2 separate regions of the Homo sapiens genome follow, and region 1 is linked to region 2. Evidence: promoter capture Hi-C in human tissues and cell types (Jung and others, 2019). All regions are on one chromosome and are shown on one strand. Each heading gives the region's core, a stretch centred on a gene start or on the middle of the fragment in contact. The rest is flanking DNA. Distances are from core to core; before and after follow the strand shown. Region 1 overlaps DLC1 (DLC1 Rho GTPase activating protein). Region 2 holds the start of C8orf48 (chromosome 8 open reading frame 48).

The links. Contacts are between HindIII fragments. The study calls those that stand out against the background at their distance.
Region 1: a fragment that was not itself captured here is called in contact with the fragment with the promoter of C8orf48 in region 2 in 2 of the 25 tissues and cell types used here (aorta and mesenchymal stem cells).

The regions. Positions count from the first base shown.
Region 1 is chr8:13,088,881-13,093,929 of GRCh38, reverse strand. DLC1 (DLC1 Rho GTPase activating protein) reads left to right here. Exons shown (of 18, transcript NM_182643.3): 13 at 1,105-1,318; 14 at 2,498-2,612; 15 at 3,460-3,678. Among named protein-coding and RNA genes, the nearest start is that of TRMT9B, 150 kb to the right of the region's middle. RefSeq lists an enhancer at 2,865-4,064. The HindIII fragment of the contact is 3,549 bases long and covers 1-3,164 here.
Region 2 is chr8:13,563,179-13,568,928 of GRCh38, reverse strand. It overlaps C8orf48 (chromosome 8 open reading frame 48), which reads right to left and starts at 2,060. Exons shown (of 1, transcript NM_001007090.3): 1 at 641-2,060. The coding sequence starts at 1,937. The coding sequence ends at 978. It also overlaps a transcript of DLC1 not described here. The HindIII fragment of the contact is 18,894 bases long and covers 1-5,750 here.

The sequences.
Region 1 (5,049 bases), core at 141-2,640, 470 kb after region 2:
GCTTAAAGAAAACAGTTGTCGAAATTAATGATCAAGATCAGGATTATGGCTTTTACAGCCTTGTGTTTTTCTTGGCTCAGTGTGGTATTACAGCAACGTAATTTAAAAGCAGCCTCTCTTAGCGCTCAAATTGTCTCTAGGATTGGCACAGTGGACTTTATTTTATGAGAAATGGAGCTGGTCTGGATTATTTCATTGGTTGTTTCATCCTTTCATATTTTATAAAAACACAGGTCACATTTTCCTCACCGAGGTATTTGTTATGTGCTGTAACCATGGAGCTGTTTAATCAGTTTGTCCTATGGAGCTACATTTGAGTGACTTGATTTTTCCACCACATGCTCTTTTAAAGAGTTATGTATTCAAGGAGACCTGAAGATCGGGATCAGCATTTTCTACCTGTAGATTGTTTATGGGTTTATTTGCATTTTTATATATTTGCATATTCATATGCATTTTTATAGCCTCTCGAGCATGCTTTCTAAAACTTAAGAAATTACTAATTCAGTGTGTTTTATTTATTAATTGAACTGAACTGAATATTTTCAGTTCAGTTCAATTCAGAACTGAATATTTTAGCAGCTTTTCCCACTTCAAGAAGGAACAAATCAGTTAAACTCATGCAAATCTCCAGAGATACTGAACATTTTGTACTCAAGGCTGAGAGATCTCTGTTCTTACGTTCTTGTACATATCTCAGATAAGATTTTTCATCAACACTAAACAAAAGTGTATAGTGTTTTCAGTAATTGAGATTGATAAATTAGGGATTTTTTTTTTTCATGCTTAGGAAAGAAAAAACTGTTCTGTAAACTAAAAGAGCAGGCATCCTCTAGAGCCGAACTCTGAGGTGGATTTAAGAGTGTTTGGGTATTGTGGGTGTTTAAAAATTTTTTCACTCCTTCATGAGGCAGGAAATACTTGAGGATAGTGACGCCGGTGGCAATTCATAACTTTTACCGTATTAACCTCTAGTGCACTTTCTACAAGTGCTTGTTCAGTACTGGGCTGAGGTATTTGATGCCGATATTTGCTCTGGGACATTTCCTTGCAATGTCCATGCAAATTCACCAAGCTGATGGAGAAAGTGCTGGTGTCGTGCAGATGTGCCCAAGGACCAGCGCCTGCAGGCCATCAAGGCTGCCATCATGCTGCTGCCTGACGAGAACCGGGAGGTTCTGCAGACCCTGCTTTATTTCCTGAGCGATGTCACAGCAGCCGTAAAAGAAAACCAGATGACCCCAACCAACCTGGCCGTGTGCTTAGCGCCTTCCCTCTTCCATCTCAACACCCTGAAGAGAGAGAATTCCTCTCCCAGGTACGGGCTGCATGGGAGGTGCATGCACACAGGGGGCAGCCTACATTCTTCCTAGGACTCTCCGTAGCTGTGGTTTTGTGGGACTCTTTCCTGAAACAAGCAAGAAGGTTAGACCGCTATATTAGTCCATTCTCACACCGCTAATAAAGACATACCTGAGACTGGTCTGTTGGCGTGCATGAGAAAATAGTCTCACTGGACTTAACCCCCACAGACAAAATCCATCGAACTGATCCTTTTCCTCAGCTCTAAAGGAACTTGAAAAGTATTTCTTAGCTAGAGGCCTGGGGCCTAGTTATGCTAGTGCAGGTTAGGTTGCTTCTGAAAGTCATATAATGTTTAAATGTATGTTTAAATAGTTCCTTTTGAGACAGAGTCTTGCTCTGTTGCCCAGGCTGGAGGGCAATGGCACGATCTCAGCTCACTGCAACCTCTGCCTTCCAGGTTCAAGCCATTCTCCTGCCTCAGCCTCCCGAGTAGCTGGGACTATAGGTGCCTGCCACCACGCCCAGCTAATTTTTATATTTTTAGTAGAGACGGGGTTTCACCATGTTGGCCAGGCTGGTCTCGAGCTCCTGACCTTATGATCCACCCGGCTTAGCCTCCCAAAGTGCTGGGATTACAGGCGTGAGCCACTGCGCCCGGCCACATTTAAATAGTTCTTAAAGTTGACTGGGGCATTCCAACTGCAATGGGATACAGAGCTAGAGATGAGTAGAGGAGAGAGATCAAATAAGATGAAGACAAAAGGTCAAGGAAACAATGGACTTAGCCCTCACCTGTGGGAGGGGGCCTGTGTATTCAGGCAGATAAAGATGATGACACCCTTTACTCCAACTCCCTGGGACTCCTTTCCCACACTCCTCAGAAGTTGCTCCCCCACCATGCAAACACAGCCCCTACAAGCTGCCCTGTTCCCAGTAGGAACCTATTTAATTAAATGGTTTGAATCACCTGGATTTCATCAAAAGCATATCTCTTTAATGTTTTTTTGTGTGTTGTTGACAAAACTCTGAGATACTCTGGTGACCAAAGTAAAAACACTCTTAATCCACTTAACAATAAACAGATTCCAGTGAAAATTTTTTTTTCTCTCTTCTTTGGGTTTCCTTGAATAATACCTTGAAGAAAAATATATAAATATTTGAACTGTTCCCCTCCTGTATTTCTTCTACCTAGGGTAATGCAAAGAAAACAAAGTTTGGGCAAACCAGATCAGAAAGATTTGAATGAAAACCTAGCTGCCACTCAAGGGCTGGCCCATATGATCGCCGAGTGCAAGAAGCTTTTCCAGGTAAGGAATTGAGAAGTTTGGCTCCTTTATTAAGGATAATGTGAATAGGTACAAAATCTTAGGCTTGACCCTTGTTCATGTCTTACCTGAAGACCTTTTCCACAGCTGGAGACGGTATAAATAGCCTGAGAATGTCTTATTTACATATATTATAATGTATCAGCTAGAGTTAATCATGTTTAATGAAATTGTCCCTTTACTTGGAAAAGCAGCCGGGCGCAGTGGCTCACGCCTGTAATTCTAACACTTTGGGAGGCTGAGGTGGGTGGATCACTTGAGCTCCGGAGTTCAAGACCAACCCGGGCAACATGGTGAGACCTCATCTCTACAAAAAAAAATTTAAAAATTAGCCGGGTGTGGTGGTGCACACCTGTAGTCTCAACTACTTGGGAGGCTGAGGTGGGAGGATCACCTGAGCCCAGGGATGTGGAGGTTGCAATGAACCAATATTTTGCCACTGCACTCCACTAGGTAACAGAATGAAACTCTCTCTCAAAAAAAAAAAAAAGAAAGAAAGAAAGAAAAAGCAACAAATTATCTGGAATTAAACTGCTGTATCCACTTCCGTATCTGAGAAACCTGCTTTGACCAATGTAATTCACTCCCCCTACTCTAACTTTCCAAAGACCTTACATGGAAATAAGATTTCAGATACATTTATGGAGGTGATCTGTTCATATCCTCGTGATAACACGTGCGGTCAGCATGATAGCCCACCTCCGGCGGGAAGATGCCTGCACTGCTTTAAGGACCAGGCCATTGTTCCTACCCAGTCTTTTCCACTGATGGGCATTGAGATTGAGTACAGGTGGACTCACCTCCTTTCTGTCTGTCATGTTCCGCACAGGTTCCCGAGGAAATGAGCCGATGTCGTAATTCCTATACCGAACAAGAGCTGAAGCCCCTCACTCTGGAAGCACTCGGGCACCTGGGTAATGATGACTCAGCTGACTACCAACACTTCCTCCAGGACTGTGTGGATGGCCTGTTTAAAGAAGTCAAAGAGAAGTTTAAAGGCTGGGTCAGCTACTCCACTTCGGAGCAGGCTGAGCTGTCCTATAAGAAGGTAAGGCTTCACCCTGTTGTCGGCTAGTTGAGTCCAGGAGTCGAAGCTTGGGTCCATCAGAGATAACACGCTTTTGCCAACTAATCTGTCTGGGGATCTGTAGCCCACAACCTCCCTTGTAGAGCTGGGCACCGGGGTGAGTAAGATCCCCGTGGTGAGAGTGGAAACCGGGCAAAGCAAGAGTAATTTTCTTCCTGTGTAACACTTGGGAGAGGATTTCAACTATTTCTAATGAACTCCTTTGGCTCTACAGAATCACACTAGACTTCCCTAGAATGTTTTGCTAATGGCATTGAGATGCGGAACATCCTATGACACGCTTCGATTTTTCCATAATTTGGTCAGAATCCCTTTGCACTCTTCTCTGTTCTTAGTTACTGTTCTCTTGGCCCTTTAATGAGCGGGGATCCCTTAGGGGGAAATTAACTCCAGTTAGGACTGGTAAACCTCTTGAGGGCAGAGGCATCTTGTAAGGCTCAGCAGGATAGGTCCATCGGAGGTATATGTTGATGCCGCCTCTACCATCTTGAAAATAAACAAACAGTGGGAGTAGGCTGGGTGGCCTTGCCGGCTTTGGAAATGAGTGCAAATGTCTGATGTTTTTGTTTTTATTTATTTATATTTTTTGAGATGGAGTCTTGCTCTGTCACCCAGGCTGGAGTGCAGTGGCATGATCTCGGCTCACTGCAACCTCTGCCTCCCGGTTTCAAGCTATTCTCTTGCCTCAGCCTCCCGAGTAGCTGGCGCTACAGGTGCCCACCACCACGCCATGCTAATTTTTGTATTTTTAGTAGAGACGGGGTTTCACCATATTGGCCAGGCTGGTCTCGAACTCCTGACCTTGTGACTGCCCACCTTGGCCTCCCAAAGTGCTGGGATTATAGGCGTGAGCCACCATGCCCTGCCAGTGACTGATATTTCTTTATTGCATGCACTCTGATATAGGTCCCAGAAAAAAAAAAACAAATGTCATCATTTTTTTCTTTTTTCTTTTGAGATGGAGTTTCATTCTCATCACCCAGGCTGGAGTGCAGTGGTGTGATCTCAGCTCACTGCAAAGTGCCTCCTAGGTTCAAGTGATTCTCCTTCCTCAGCCTCCTGAGTAGCTGGACTTACAGGTGCCTGCCACCACGCCTGGCTAATTTCCATATTTTTAGTAGAGACAGGGTTTCACCATGTTGGCCAGGCTGGTCTTGAACTCCTGACCTCAGATGATCCACCCGCCTCGGCTTCCCAAAGTGCTGGGATTACAGGAATGAGCCACTGCACCCGGCTCAAATGTCATCATTTTGACTCGAGTTGACAACAGCTTTTTTTCACTTTCTGGCTTGCTCTTAAATATGCTTGGGGACAGCAGCCTATTTAAGTCAT
Region 2 (5,750 bases), core at 811-3,310:
TTTCAAGGAGTACCCTATATCCATTCATTATTTACTTACATTTTTCCTCAATCTATTTTGTCTGCCCCATTTGTATAAGTGAAATGGCTTTTGCTAAGGTCAGCAGTGCCCAATACATGACTAAATCATCTTTACATGGCTTCTCTGTTGATTGATGTGGTTAGACAACTATCCTTCTTTAAATATTCATTCCTTAGCATCTATGACACTATACATTCCTGATTTCCTTGATCCACTTGATAACTTTTTTCACAATCTTTTCTGCAGGTTTATTTTTCTCTACTTAGCCATTAATTGGCATTTCTCAAGAGTTTGTATCAACCCTGCTTCTCTTCTTATTCATTTCCAAAAACGCTTGACAATCTACGGCTTCAACTTCCAGCTATATGCCATTGATCCCCACCCTTCCCCCAGTCCTACCCCAATTTATTTTGCACCTCTAGGCTATACCTTTCCTCTGAAGCGCAAAAACAAATAATCAAATGTTTCTTCAAACTGTCAATGTGTATGTCCCAAATGCACCTTATATGTCCAAATAATCATACTCTTCAACAGTTCCATCAAACATAGTCCTCTTCTGGTGTTCCTGTCTTAATGAAATTAATGATCATTCATCCGGGCGCACAAGTCAGAGCCTTAATAACATTTCAAACATCTACTATTTATTAATTCCCCATAGCCATTTGATCGCCAAAGACAGTTATTACTTTTTAAGTTTCTCTTACATCCCCATACTACTTTGCTTCTGTACCATCAACATCCTGGCCCAAACTACCAACATAGTTCTCTTGGAATTTTGTAAAAGTTTTTATAACTATTCCAACTACAACAGTGCCTTCTATAATAGGAAAAAAAAAGTGAAAGTTCTTAGTCCTCAAATCTGTGAAGGAAGCATAGTAAAGTCTTAAGTTAGTTTCCCAAGTGCCTGTAGAAATTATGGTAATTACTCAAATACACAACAAAGACATCTATCCACATTACACATTATCATTAACAATCACCAGCTCTGGTTTGATTAGAGTAAGTCGCTTGAGAAATGGCAGAGAAAATGGTAAATGACAAGCACTATTTCCATCTCGCTGCAACTTCTGCTCTGTCTCTGATCTTTCAAAACCAGAGTATCTGATATGACTTTTCTCAGTCAGTCTTTTCCAGATTATTCTGGGGTCATCTGAAAGCCTGGGAAAGTCTTGATGTGCTTCTCCAATACGGGTGAGAAAGTCTTTGGTATGAAGATGTTCATCTATTCTCTCTTGGAGTAGAAATGACTCCAGTAAAGTCTTCTTTTGTTTCAGAAAGGCAGACAGGGCCAGCTCCGCTCTTTTCCTGTTACAATAGGGACACTGATAAGATATGTGTTGCTTAGCTGCTGCCTCCTGTTTTGGCGTTGTCCTCATGTTTTTAAAGTAGATTCTGTTCAAAAGTTCATCGGGTACAGTACAACTAAAGGCATCTCTCTCTGAAGCCTCTACATCCAATCCAAGATGCAGCTTTTTATGTCTGCTGCTCGTCTTCTTCTTAGAATCCCCTCTACGATGAATCAAATTTATCTTCATGGTGCAATAAGACTGCAGGGCATTCAATTCTTCATCTGATACCCGAGTGATTTCTGTTGGAAGTTTGGTGTCTGGTTGGTGCCGTTCAAAGTTAGAGTCTTTGAGCTTGAGGTAGTTGATCCATTTTTTACTCAACTTCTTTTCATAATTTTTATAGTCCAAAAGCTCAGATTGTGTGTCTCCTTGTTCCAAGCTTGGAGTCTGCTTTTCCCTCTCCAGTTTGCTCCCAGAGGTCAGGGGCGAGGACTGCCGTCCTCCAGAGGAGCTGAATGAGCTGGAAGTCTGTACCTCATCAGTAGAGTTCTTCAAAGTCTCAGTCTCATCAGAAAGGTTTGCAAGAGCACTTTTGTCCGTTTGGGCCAATTCTGGGCAGATGGCCATCACAATGCATCAGGCTCGGCTCCTCATCTCCTTTGCCCAGGTTAAGACTGGCTCAGGAACCCGTCAGGAGCTGACCCCTCCGGGAATGGATCTCAATGCCATCAGCTCTGCGGAGGTCGTCTTCCGGGAGACGCCTTCCCAGCTGTCTTGGCAACGCGGGCCGCTCATGCGCAGTGACTGGCCACCATGCGGCGTCCCGCCTTTTCCTCCGCGCTCCCCAGCGCCCACTGCGCTTGCGCTGCTTGCGCCGGGTTGGCGATTTTGCCCTGTCTTCTGCACTCCTGCTTCTCTTTGGTGCTAAAGTCGAGTAGTCAACGGGAAAACCTTGCAAACTCTGTTTCCCAGGGGTCAGACAGGTGGCACACGTGTGTGAGACCAATAGAGTTAGGTGGCCTGTGACAAATCCGAACGTGTACGCCCGCCTAAATGCATCTAGATTTAAAAATCAAGCAAAACGCGCTGGACAAGATGCACAAGCAAAAACTTGTCTGCAGTGTTTATAGCCAAGAGACACCTCCTTGTAGAGCATGTCTTTGGGGAAAAGTCAAAATACAGAAACCATTCTGTAAGAAGTAGTGTTCTGTGCTCCAGCATTCTGAGGACCTCGAAGTTTGGGCGGGGTCGGGGGTGGGGAGCAGGGGCGGGGGAGGACCTTAATTTTCCAAATCAGTTTCTCTGGCCTTTTGTCCATACAGGTCCCCTCTGGCTAGCATATCCACGCCCGTCCTCACTCTTAATATCGTTAATTTATCCTCCTCCTCCGAGTCCCATTTCCTCAGGAAGGGCTTAATACCCACCCCTGCCTTAAACTCTTTCCAGCATTTTTTTTTAAATAGTGTCCAACTATGTGATTGTATGAGTATCTGATTATGAAGGCTGAAGGCAGAAATCATGTCGGTGTTGCCGACTAGTATGAGCCCAGCAATCAGCAGACACATAGCAGGTGTTCAAGAAATCTCTGTTGAGTGAATGGCTATGGAACAAATAAATCTTACCTTACACACGTCCAGAGGATTTGGAGAAATAAGTACTATAAGTTCAGGGAACTCTAACCTTTTTTCTAACTGAATCCCCAAACTTAGGCTATTACACAGGATATATTTTTTATTAATGGATTCATTTAAAAAACACAGTAGAGTTTTATTAATTATCGTGAGAAATTATAAAATGTTAACTCTAGAGATGGACTTTTCCTAGGTTATAATAGTTCTTGAGTCTAGGACTTAGTCAATGTCTAGGATAATTTTAAGAGCCTAGACACCCTTCTTTCTCAGTTTTGTCTCTCTCTCTCTTTCTTCCTGTGTTTCTTGGGGATTGGGGGGTATTATTCAGGTCTAGCCAGATATATTCCCCAAATGTTCATTCTGGCAAAAAGTGAAAGTCAAATATTCAAAAAGCATCTCTCAAGTATATGAGCCAGCTTCCTGTTGAAGATAAGGAGACTCCAACTTCATTTATTCAACCCAAATTTTATTTTATCATATAATGGTAGTCTTTAAAAAAGAGGTGGCATGTAATTTGTGAGTAACTCCAAGTAATTTCCAATAGGGCTCAATATTTTCCTTATTTATTATTTCAAATCTCTGCCTCATTCTCTGAATATTTACACATTCATATTTACACACTATTCATGTTTTAGCTATATCTTATCCATAACATTGAACAAGGGAGCTATACTTAAAATAAAATCTATCTGTGTCTTCTAACATGCCAAATGTCTGGGGTAATCTGTCTTTTTTATAATCGTGTCTTAAATTTCTCTTGATTTTTAAAAATAACTTTATCCTAGAAGGAGATATATGTGGGTGGGAAATTCTATAATTAATTTCCTTGTAATATTCAGCGTGACCCAGTGGACAGTTTTACATTCTAGTAAGTGTGTTATCTAAGGAAGAAAATTTCTCAACAGTACTATATTTATCAAATAAGATTCATGAAAACACAGGTCAAAGTTTGATTTTAAACAAATATGAAGAGTAATAGTTTTCCTTTGGAAATCTCAATCTTCTTGCCATCTCTCAGGGGCTGTTGGGAATGTCAAAATGCTTTGTGGACCAAGCTGTGGCTGAAGGCTGCTTGTGGTGGGGATTGGGAGATATGAAGAATAGAAAAGAGAGTCCAGTCAGGCTCTCTTGGCCTAACCTTGCTATGCCCCTCCTGTTACTGTTCTGCAGCTACTTTCTCTTCTTCCTAGTTCCTATCAGAGAGCAGGGCCAAGGGTCTTCTCCCAGCTTTTTCCTTAATGATCAAGAATGCTTTGCAGCTATAAGGCCAACCCCAGAAAGAGGAAGTCAAAACAAATTCATGATTCCCCTTCTCTCTTGCTTTCCTTTCCTATGGAGGGAGAAAAGCAAACTTTCAGCATCTGTCACTCTGGCAAGCAATTCTCCCCCCAGATATCATAAACGTTTCCATGATGAGTTGGCATTTGGCAGGTACCTCTTCCTGGTGGTGTGCAGTGTACAAAGTGGGAGTCTAGTTTAAGTATAAGAGAGACTACGATGACAGAGCCTTCAAAAATATTCTACCCTTTACATCAACTTCTCAAGTAACGCTGTGCTTGGTTCTGTAGATGCAGCAAGATGAAATGTTTAGCTGTTCTCCTAGGGGGCTAAGTTGAATGTGACAAGAATCTCACTGTAATGGCCATTTTTGTGAAGGAAAGAATCGTATATCACTCAAGATGAAAAATGATTTTATTTATAGTTGTTCAATTTTTTTGTGGTTCAGTACTTGTTCTTTATCTGTAAAATGTTTTTACCTCACAATTATCTCCATCTTTCTATTCTGTTTTCTGCATCTTTGGTGTTATTATCTTTTTTCTGAAATTGATTAATTGCCTTGTGAATAGCTGCCTTCTACTTTAATAGCTATTTTTTTGCAAAAGTAATAATATAGGTTTACTGCAGATTTTTAAAAAAGAAAATGATAAGCCACAAATACTGATTTTAAGCAAAAGCTACCTATATTCTGACTTCCCAAAGATAATTACTATAAACATTGATAAAGTGTTGTAATATTTTTCTTGAATTTCTTAATTAAAATCTAGATTATACTGAATTTTGGTTTTATGAACAATTTTTTCCAGTTAGTAATAAAATGAACCTTTCCATTCATTGTAAAAATTATTTTCAACATAATTTTAAAGGTGGTTTTGCATTATTTGATTCGTTTAACAAATACATTCAGATGCAAGGTATTTCTAGTTTTTTTGCTATGAAAAATTATTCCTTTAGCTAAATCTTTACATACATTTCTAGCTATATGTTTAGGATAAATTCCAGAAATCATAATTCGTGGGTCAAAATGTATGCACATTTTTAATGCTTTTGAGATCTGTTTCTCCTCTATAGATTAAATTGACAGATCCTTCAAAAATATTCTACCCTTTACACCAATTCTGCAAGTGTCACTGTGCAAGGTTCTGTGAATCAAGCAAGTCTCTTCTCCTAAGAGACTAAGTTAAAGATGCCAGGAATCTCGCTGTGAGGAGCTGATTCTTTCTGGAGGAAAGAATCTTACATCACTCATGATTTTTTAAAAATTATTTTAATTTATAGTTTCTGTACATCATTTTTTCTAGGATATAATGTTCTTTTGTCCATAAATACTTTGTTTTATATCTCTTACAAGTTAGGCCTTTTTAAAAACAGCCACATTGTGACCACATCTAGCAAGTGACGATAAATCCTTAATATCATCTAATAATTATTCTGTGTTCAAATTTATCTGACTGCCTCAAGAATGCCTTTTTGCAAGTTGAAGTGTTAGAATCAGGATCCAAACAAGGTCCACTGACTGCATTTGGCTAAC